Regions from separate parts of the Homo sapiens genome. Here region 2 is linked to region 1. Evidence: promoter capture Hi-C in 16 types of primary human blood cells and fetal thymus (Javierre and others, 2016). All regions are on one chromosome and are shown on one strand. The core of a region is centred on a gene start or on the middle of the fragment in contact, and the rest is flanking DNA. Distances in the headings are between cores, read along the strand shown.

Evidence for each region. The method cuts DNA at HindIII sites, captures the fragments that hold promoters and counts their contacts. A CHiCAGO score of 5 or more calls a contact.
Region 2: the fragment with the promoter of ACAA2 here is called in contact with the fragment with the promoter of ARK2N in region 1 in 1 of 17 cell types (naive CD8 T cells); the score reaches 5.1 in naive CD8 T cells.

What each region holds. Positions count from the first base shown.
Region 1 is chr18:46,170,597-46,175,401 of GRCh38, forward strand. ARK2N (arkadia (RNF111) N-terminal like PKA signaling regulator 2N) reads left to right here and starts at 3,438. Exons shown (of 5, transcript NM_145055.5): 1 at 3,438-3,734. RefSeq lists enhancers at 3,012-3,061, 3,382-3,641, 3,672-3,721, 4,322-4,451. The HindIII fragment of the contact is 7,725 bases long and covers 2,622-4,805 here.
Region 2 is chr18:49,809,989-49,814,969 of GRCh38, forward strand. It overlaps ACAA2 (acetyl-CoA acyltransferase 2), which reads right to left and starts at 3,545. Exons shown (of 10, transcript NM_006111.3): 1 at 3,481-3,545. The coding sequence starts at 3,496. It overlaps SNHG22 (small nucleolar RNA host gene 22), which reads left to right and starts at 4,035. Exons shown (of 4, transcript NR_117096.1): 1 at 4,035-4,074. It also overlaps SCARNA17. RefSeq lists silencers at 3,338-3,457, 3,351-3,645, 3,888-4,057. The HindIII fragment of the contact is 2,119 bases long and covers 2,797-4,915 here.

The sequences.
Region 1 (4,805 bases), core at 2,188-4,687:
CAGGGTTCAAGTGATTCTCCTGTCTCAGCTTCCGGAGTAGCTGGGATTACAGGTGTGCACCACCACACCTGGCTAATTTTTTGTATTTTTAGTAGAGACGGGGTTTCACCATGTTGGCCAGGTTGGTCTTTTTTTTTTTTTTTTTTTTTTTTTTTTTTTGAGACGGAGTCTCGCTCTGTCGCCCAGGCCGGACTGCGGACTGCAGTGGCGCAATCTCGGCTCACTGCAAGCTCTGCCTCCCGGGTTCACGCCATTCTCCTGCCTCAGCCTCCCGAGTAGCTGGGACTACAGGCGCCCGCCACCGTGCCCGGCTAATTTTTTGTATTTTTAGTAGAGACGGGGTTTCACCTTGTTAGCCAGGATGGTCTCGATCTCCTGACCTCATGATCCACCCGCCTCGGCCTCCCAAAGTGCTGGGATTACAGGCGTGAGCCACCGCGCCCGGCCCAGGTTGGTCTTGAATTCCTGACCTCAGGTGATCTGCCCGCCTCAACCTCCCAAAGTGCTGGGATTATAGGCGTGAGCCACCGTGCCCGGCCTGTATTTTTTTTTTTTAGTAGAGATGGAGTTTCACCATGTTGGCCAGGCTGGTCTTGAACTCCCGACCTCAGGTGATCCGCCCACCTTGGCCTCCCAGTGTGCTAGGATTACAGGCGTGAGCCACCACGCCTGGCCTTAGGTTGCCCAATTCTTAGCAATCTGAGATGGAAGGGAGGGGGCAGCCCAGAGCCCAGAAATGAGGGTTCCCTCCCCTCGTCTCCCCCTACTTTCATCATCTCTAGAGTGGTTCTCATAATTGTGTCCATTTTACAGGGCAAATGGTAGAAGTAACCTGCTCAGTCAGGAGAGATCAGGTTACAGTCAAAGCCAGACCAGCCACGCCCTGATGCTACTGTCCAGGCCACCACAGCTGGCAGGTACCTGCTGCAGGCTTAGCCCCAGGCTAGGCGGTATATCAGGTGCAAAAAATGATGGTGAAGAGTGATTCTGACAGGCTTGGCTCTGGCCTCTAGGGCTATGACAGAAGTTGAGAGGATGACGAATATGGTTTAGTAGTAACCCTACAGATAGACCAAGGGCAGACATGTTTGTAGGAGAGTGTGTGTGAGCAGGGGAGTCCTGACCCACAGTGGAAGGCCAGGATGGAGGGGGTAATAAGGGTAGTGGTGACGGGGGTTGTGTCTGGGCTGAGCTGGTTTTATGGGAGAGATGGCATTTCAGGAGCTTGTAGAGCTAAGTATTGGATACACAGAAGACTTTGAGGCAGAAGTAGGATCCCTTCTGCTCCTACAGAAGAAGGGGAAGAAGCAAGTAACTGTACCATTTAATAATGGAAATATAGTAGTAATAAAAATATTAGTAATTAGGATATCAAATGCCCTAGCCTCCAAAAATATACAAAGGCCATTCGACGTAGGAAATTGACTTATTGGTATTAAACAGGAGAAGGGGCTGGGTGCGCTGGCTTACACCTGTAATCCCAGCACTTTGGGAGGCTGAGGTGGGTGGATAACCTGAGGTCAGGAGTTTGAGACTAGCCTGGCCAACATGGTGAAACCCCGTCTCTACTAAAAAACCAAAAAATTAGCTGGGTGTGGTGGCGTGCACCTGTAATCCCAGCTACTCGGGAGGCTGAGGCAGGAGAATCGCTTGAACTCGGGGGGCAGAGATTGCAGTGAGTCAAGATCGCGCCACTGAACTCCAGCCTGGGCGACAGAGCAAGACTCTGTCTCAAGAAAAAAACCAAAAAACCAAAACCAACCAACCAAACAAAAAACAAAGAAACAACAACCACAAAGCAAAAAACAAAAAACAAAAAACAGGAGAAGGACCCAAGATGGTATCTCAGTAGTCAGGGTCCTACTTCAGTATTTCTGCAGCATTGATTAGATCAGACTGTCAAGGAATCTTTTAAAAACTCAATGTATTAGTCCACATTCATTCATTTCCAGACTGAAAGTTGTGATCTTAGTGTGATTTTTCCTTTTCTTTTCTTTTTTTCCTGAAATAGGCTGGGCTCTTGTCACTACCCCATAACCTCTCAAATCCCTTGAGGACTCAGGTAGCAGAAAGTAAATAAATGAATGAACGAGTGAAATAACATACACGGATAAACTACTTAGCTAGCACACACTACGTTCTCTGTGATTCTCAGTGAGGCAGTTGGTGGCTGTGGTTAAGAAAGTAAGCTCTGCCTGTGTTGGAATCCAACACTGCCACTTACTTGGATGTGTCATCTTGGGCAGGTCACTCTGTCCCTCAGTTTCCACCTTTGCAATTTGGGACTAGTAACGCCATCCAACTCATAGGGTTGTTATGAGTTGTAATGAGGATTCAGTGGATTTAACCCATTTAAATGCAAGGTGCCTGGTATAATAAAATTATTTTCTTTTCTTAATTTATTCTTGTAGTTGGGGATGAAAAACTCGCACTCCTGTAGGCAGTCAGAAAAAATGAGTGAAGTGGGGGAACTAAGGGGCCTGGTCTGAAGGGGGAGACTGATATTTAGGGGAGTGCGGACCCAGTGGTGTGAGATTTTCAGAATCTCCTCTTGACGGGTCTCATCCGAGGTTCCAGCACAGCTCTGTAAAGGTAAAGACCGTTTACATTTTCCTCCTCAAAGCTTTATTATTATTATTTTTCTTCTCAAAACACTGCTTTGCTTTGGGGGAGCGCGGGTCCTTGGCCAGATCTTGAGTCTTGAGATATGTCTTCAGCATCTCCTGCTCCTCCTTGGGAAACGCTCCACCCGCCAGTGGGCCTGCGCCCTCCTCCCCTTCTTCGGGGTTCGGGTCCACCTCGTTTCCCCCACCCTCCCCAGGGCTGACTGCAAATCGGAGGGCGACTGCAGAGGCGGAATTCGGGGCAGAGCGGGGTCTCCCCAGCGGGCCACGTCCCACCAGCAGGTGGCGGTCGATCTGCAAGGCCTGCAAGGTGCCCGGACAGAAACTTGAGCAGATATTGGTGCCGCTGCCCGAGAAGAGCTCAGCCGAGTCTCCCCGAGCCCAGCTATCGGCATCCGCGAAAAAGCGGGGAGAGAAGGGCACGGGCTCTCCGCTGGAGCGACTCTGGGATTCAGACACCGCAAGCTGCTTTCGGAAGGGCTTCAGGAGGGGGTGAGTACTGAGCAGCGCACAGAAAAGGGAGCGCTGTCCTTTGCTGAAGGCATTGTCCTTGGCTTGCATTGAGTGGCTTTCCCACCCCCCGGGAAAGACATTTCGGGAAGGTGACGGTCTCAACAGAAGGAGGGAGCGCGGGAAAGAAGCCCGGGGAGCCGGCGCCTTCACGCCCCGCGGTCTGCAGCGGGAGGAGCGCGGGTTCCATCGCGCCAGATGGCGCTGTCTGGCTTTTCTCGGGCCTCGGGCGCCAGTCTCCAGAGGTCTCCGGCGCAGCTGCCTCTCTAGCCGGCCGACGCGGGCTCTGTGTTTCCGGGCGGAAGTGAGGCGCCCAGCGGAACGGCCTCTGGTGACATTTTCTTGGGGGCGGCGCGGACGACTGAAGGGACTTGGTGGTAGAGGCTGCGGAGGCGGCGAGGTTCACTTTGGTCCCGGCAGGGGCTCTGACCGCGACCCACTGCTCGCTGCCGGGGCTTGTTCCGAGGAGGAGAAGGCGGCGGTGGCCGTCGCGTCCTGAGTCACCGCAGCGGGGAAGAGTCCCGGCCGGGGGTTCGGTGCGTGCCCCGACGGGGCGCGCGCGAAGCGAGCGAGAAGGCACGGAGTCGCCGCGGAGCGCAGGTGAGGCGGGAAGGGGCGCAGGGCCGCGGCCTGGCTACTGGTCGAGTTGGGGGGCCCGGGTTGCGTCCCAGGGAGGGGTCGGGGCGAATCGGAGGGCTGCGGGCCGCGGTGAGGGCTCTGCGGCGTCCGGACGCTGGGGTCCTAGCGGGCCTGGCTGGTGGGCGCCGGGAACTCGCAGCCTGGATTGCCGGCTGACGCTGGGGCATCGCACCTCTCCGACCTCCTTGCTCGTCCGCCGTTGGTGACCCTAGCGTCCTCCCGGCCCGGCGGAGTTGGCTCCGGCACTCCAAGCCCCCAGACGCTGGGGCCGGGTTGAGGCGAGTCCTTTTCCGGGGGTGCTGAGGGGAGGCTGGAGGTGCCGCAGTCCCCGGGCTGCGGGGGGAAGCGACTTCACGGCCCTGGAGTTGTCTTCACGCAACTTTCCGGCTCCTAGGCCCGCGGGGGAAGCAGTGGCGGCAACTCCGCCAGCTCCGAGAGTAGGGGGTCTGGCGCCGACACCTGCCCCTGCAGCGGAGAGCTCCGGCGCCGCGGCCGCAGTGGCCTTGGTGGAGGGAGAAAAGGCTTTCTTATAGGCTTGGCGCCGCCTGCCTCTCGGCGCTTCCACTACCTTCGGTCGGCAGGCGCCTCCAGTCAATGCGAGAGATGTGTCAGTCTCCAAAATAGACCGCTTCTGGGGAGTTTGTCAACTTTATTTCAAAACCGGCGAGGATGTACACTGACGAACCCGTGTTAAAGACTATCGCCTTTACGCAAGCCATTCATTCTCACTTTAAAATTGTCCACCCCCCCGCCCCGACCCCCGTCCCCGGCAGCCCCCATCACAAAATTGATGCTCACAGGTTGAAGTAGAGAACATCGGTACGAGCCCTACCAGATCCTTGAGCAGTTTCTGTTTGGATGGGTTTTTCGTTTTTTGCCTGACCTTTTGCTTTCTGAATCCTCTTACCCAGTAGAATTAAAATCCTACTGATGATACTTCGTCAAGGTTGGACCTCTTAATTACAAAAACATCTGCCAATTTTGCTTAGGCTTTTATTGTGTAGTATTGGGTACATGCTAACAGAATCACTC
Region 2 (4,981 bases), core at 2,295-4,794, 3.6 Mb after region 1:
GTACTTTCTGCTCAATTTTTTTGTAAAACCTAAATCTGCTCAAAAACAAAGTTTGTAAATTTTTTCTTTAAAGTCGGATAGTAAAAAAACACGGGCAGAACCTCAAGGACTAACAAGTTACAGTCATAGGAGAGGACAGAGAATGGATTTAAAAAAACATTTGCAGAAATAATAAAGAAGAAATTTCCAAATTTGATAAAAAACATAAATTTGTATATTAAAGCTTGGTAAACCTCAACTCTAATAAACACCACACGTAACACTCCACACCCCGTTCTCCTGCAGCTTGGCACATCATTGTCAAACTTTTGAAATCCAAAGATAACAAAAATATATAAAGCATCCAGAAATAAAAATGACATATTGCACACATGGAAATGACCCCTCACTTCTCAGAAACAATAGAGCCTAATTTCATTTGTCTCTCTACAAAGTTCCTTTTATGAACTTCTCCCCTATGTCTCATATTCTAAGAAAGCATTTGATAGGGCAGTGCTAGTAGTGAAATATGCAATATCTACAAAGGAAAGGGTGTGCATGGGAAAATAAAAACAAAAAAAAACCTCCCCTTTACCTATATTACTTCTTATTTGATGCTCCCAGACTGTAAAGGTTAGCTCAAGTAAGACCTTAACTGAACTAAAACAATTATTTTGAACAGAGAAAATGTTCTCAATCATATATTTTTGGTTTGGGTTTTTTTTGTTTGTTTGTTTGGAGGCAGGGTTTCACTCTGTCACCCAGGCTGAAGTGCGGTAGTGTGATCTTGGCTCACTGCAGCCTCAACCTCCTGGGCTCAAGCAATCCTCCACCACAGCCTCCCGAGTAGCTGGGACTACAGGCGAGTGCCACCATGCTTGGCTAATTTTTGTATTTTTTGTAGAGACTGGGTTTCTCTATTTTAAAAAATAATTTGTTATTATTATTTTAAATCTTCATTTTAACAAATAATCTGGGATGTGCAGATAGACTATAAAGGTTTAAAGTTTTTTTTTTTTAATTTCATAAATTGTATACCATGTCAATTTTCATTTGATGTCAATTTTACGTGGATACTAAAAGGTCTAAAACTTAACAATCTTTAACACCAAACTGAAATCTCATTTGAACACCCTGAAAATTCAGAGGCTAAAAATTTCCCAAAACTGAAAGACAGTGAAGAGACCTATTAACCCAGAGTGTAGTGAGTCCAAGTAGCTCCAAGAAAGGCCCTGGAAAGATGTGCTGAGTTGACAATACAGGAAAAGCACCACTAGGAAAGAAACAGGAGCACTACCTTTCTATCACATTGTTAGGTAAATATTCACTTAGAGCAACTTCAGGCAGCAACGAGGGCAAATTAAGGAAAGCTGCGGTGGCATCCAGTTGTTTCAAGATTAAGGTAATTTAGCAGCCCTGTCTACTTGCCTTGAAAAAATACACAAACATTCCCAACAAAGCTAGGAGCAGTAGGAGAGCTATGATCTGTCGAGCGAAAACCTCCTGCCAAGTACTGGGATGGGTGCTAATAAAAACCTAGGAGCCGGTTCTTCTTGTTGACTGAAATCTGACAAATTAATGTTAATCCTTAACAAAATTTAACTCAAATGTGTCCTTTTCCCTATAATCAGTCACATGCTCTTCTTTCTTCCCACCCATCCTGCAAACACTTGGTATGCTGCTTGAGAGAAGTTTATCTTTAATGATTCTAGCTGGCCTGTAACATCACTATTTCAAGCTCAAAGCTTGGGTTCTAGTCACAGCCACTAACTACCTGTGTTATTATACACAACCACTTTACCTCTCTCGACATGAGTGTCCTCCTAATTGCTACAATAAGGAAATGGAAAAAAATACGATCACTAGCTCTAACACTACAGTAAATTGTACCAGAAATTTATAAACTTTATACTTCCTTAATACAGGTGTCAATGTGCATTTTTTTCCTTTTTGGGTTTATAGTATTTGTGAAATTTTCAAACAGGTCTGTATTATAAGAAAGGGTAAGAACCACTGATAAAATATTAAAATGATATCAGTAAAAATATTATTTCCTTTTTTAGAAGATAGCTCATGACAATGCACCTTTTAAATGAAGTGTAAATGCCTCGTCTAAAAAAAATTCACCACGCTGCTTTATGAAGTAAATGTAGTAAATTCAGTCAGGAAGGGCACTGGCAAATGAAATCCACGTTGCAGGAAACTGTAAACACTGCATTTGGTCCCAGAATACGGATTTTTCCCTTGATTTGTTCCCATGCCACTTTGGTTCTTCTCACTTTCAGATCCCCCTAACCAATGCTTAGCTGGCATCTCCACTTGGCTGCTTCACAGGCACCAAAAAGTTTTCTGCCTAAAACTGAATTCTCAATCCTTCTTTCCACATCTATTCCTTTCCCAATTTTCCTCACTCTGTAAAGTGGCATCATCATGAACACGGTTCATCAAACCAGACACTTTTCATCATTCTCGACATTTCCTTCTTATATTTACTCCACCACATCCAATCCACTTTCTATCAAATCCACCTCCAAATCTATCTCAACTCATCCCTCCCCTTTTCTCCCCAATTACACTGCCCCACACGAGTCAAAGCCATCATTTGCTGCTCCCTGGACCTCTACAATAGATCCTTAAATGGTCTCTTCGCCATTACACAGACCGCCCCAAATTCGGACAGAGTGGAAATCAGATCCTGTCATTACCCCGCTTTAAATCCCTGTATTGCCTTCCACTGAATTTGGAACAAAACCCCACCTTCTTACAGAGCCCACAGGGCCCTGGAGCACCAAAATGCTTGGTTCTTAGATCCTGCCAAGCTTTTTCCTGTCTCAGGGCCTCGATATGTATTCCACCTCAATGTTCTTCGACTCGTACATCCTTAAAGTAAGATTCCATTGACTGTGCCCACTTGTTTTGAAAAGGGAGTTTATTACACAGTTGTTTTAAACAAGTTCATAACCCTAGAACTTAGGTATAGAGTGACCGCTCTAATCTAAAGCAACAGAAGGGAAATGGGAGCAGGGCAGGTCTTCCAGCAGAACACCAGCTACCATTTCTGCAGGCCTCTCCATCGATTCACCCGGGGAGCCCTGACCACCGAGGCCGAGCGGCGGGCTCCTGTGCGCAGCTGCCCCGCAGCAGGCGCCCGCGGCCTATGGCGCCGCCCCATTTTTTCTAATACTTGGACTCGAACTAGTGGGGTCACTGTTAGGCGAAGAAAGGAATGACCTCCAAGGTCACATGCAAGCAAACTTTGGTCTCAACTAAACAGGAAATTGCACCGAAATCGCTGTCGCTAGCGCCTTACAAGTAAGGGTTTTCTCCTTAACCCAAACAAGCCTTTCGGGCTGGGTTTTTATCACGTCCGCTCCAAAACCGAGGAGGTTGAGTGAACTTCACCCCACGACCCCGACTCTCCGCGGCGGCCGGAAGCGGAGGCCTGGCCTGGGGAGGGCAGGACCCCGAGGGGCGAGGAGAGGAGGAGGGGGCTGCGCTCACCTCGGAGCAGAGCCATGGCGGCTGCTGGGTCGTCGGCGGCGCGGGTCTGTGGTGTGGGGGACGCTGAGCGGCCGCTCGCAATCACCCAGATTTCAAGAGCGTGGGTGGCGCCCCGAGAGCCACGCCCCTGCCCTTTCACCTACTTCCTGGGGCTCCTTGGCGGGGTCCCAGCGTAAGATGGTCCTACCCCACGCGTAGCGCTGCCCGCCTCACCCCAGCCCGAGGGAGCCCAGGGGACGGGGCTCGGATAGACCACAACGCGCCTTGAGAGCGGACTCTTTCCTCACATCCTCATTTTTAGATTTTCTCCGTTTCCAAACCGAGAGAATTTGGTTTGACACCTCTCACCCATCATATCCTAGCCCCGACAGGCGATGACTCTTCCCCTTTGTCTCCGCCAACACCCTAAACACTGGGCAGGAGCCAAGGGCTGAGGAACTTGGCGCGCGGGCGGCCGCGGCCGCCAGCTGGGGGCGGGACCGAACGTCCTGTGGGCGGGGCGCGGCGGCGGCGGCGGGATTGGCTGGGGCGGGCGGGTGCGCAGTCCGCTGGGCAGAGGCTTGGGCCGCCGAGCTGGACCCGGACCGGTTTTGGGTACTGTACTGGGGGCAGGGCAGAGAGGTGGGCGGCAGTTGGGGTGCGGTGATTGTAGTAGGCTAGGGCGCTTTCGGGTCCCCATTGCAGCCCCCGGATGAGCCCGCAGTATTTTCCTTATATGATCAGGTCCCATTGCGGGCGGCGCCGCTTGCCCGGAGCCTGAGAGGATTATGAAAACGTGGCGAGCGAAATGGGGCCAGGGGACCTGGAGCAGGGGCGTGAGGAGAGTAGGCAGCGGGTGAGGCTGGACGGGAGGGAGGTCTAGGGAGGCCTCTGCCGCGGGCACTGTGAGTCCTGGCCGATGATGACGAGACCACTGCGCAATCTGAGTTCTGGGAACCAGGTGATGGAGTATGTTCTGAGAACAGACTGAGGCCGGGCAAGCAGGAGGCGGCCGCGGCAGGGGAGAGGCGGAGAGCCCCTCGATACCAGGGCTCGGAGGGCCGGGCTGCCTAGCGAGGGCTTCTTTTGAGTGCGTAGGGGTGGTGGGTGGCATGGACGGTTTCTCTGAGTCGTCAGCGAATGCCCCCCCTAGAATCCTGCTTTTCAAACACTTTGGTGACACTCTTGCAATGTTGGGGTGTTTTTAAATCCAAATTTGTATTATGAAAACTTACAAACTTACAGAAAAGTGGGAAGACTTGTACAGTGGACACATATCGACCCAATTGTTAACATTTTGCTATATTGCTATCCACCTGTTCTTCCATCAAACCATCTTATCTTTTTAATGCAGACCTTAGTACTCTACACCCATGAACACATCAGCACACATTATTCATTTACAGTTCTTTTTAAGGCAAAATATCCACGCAATCAAATGTACAAATCTTAGACAAGCTTCACAAATGCTCATGTATAGGCCGGGCGCCGTGGCTCACGCCTGTAATCCCAGCACTTTGGG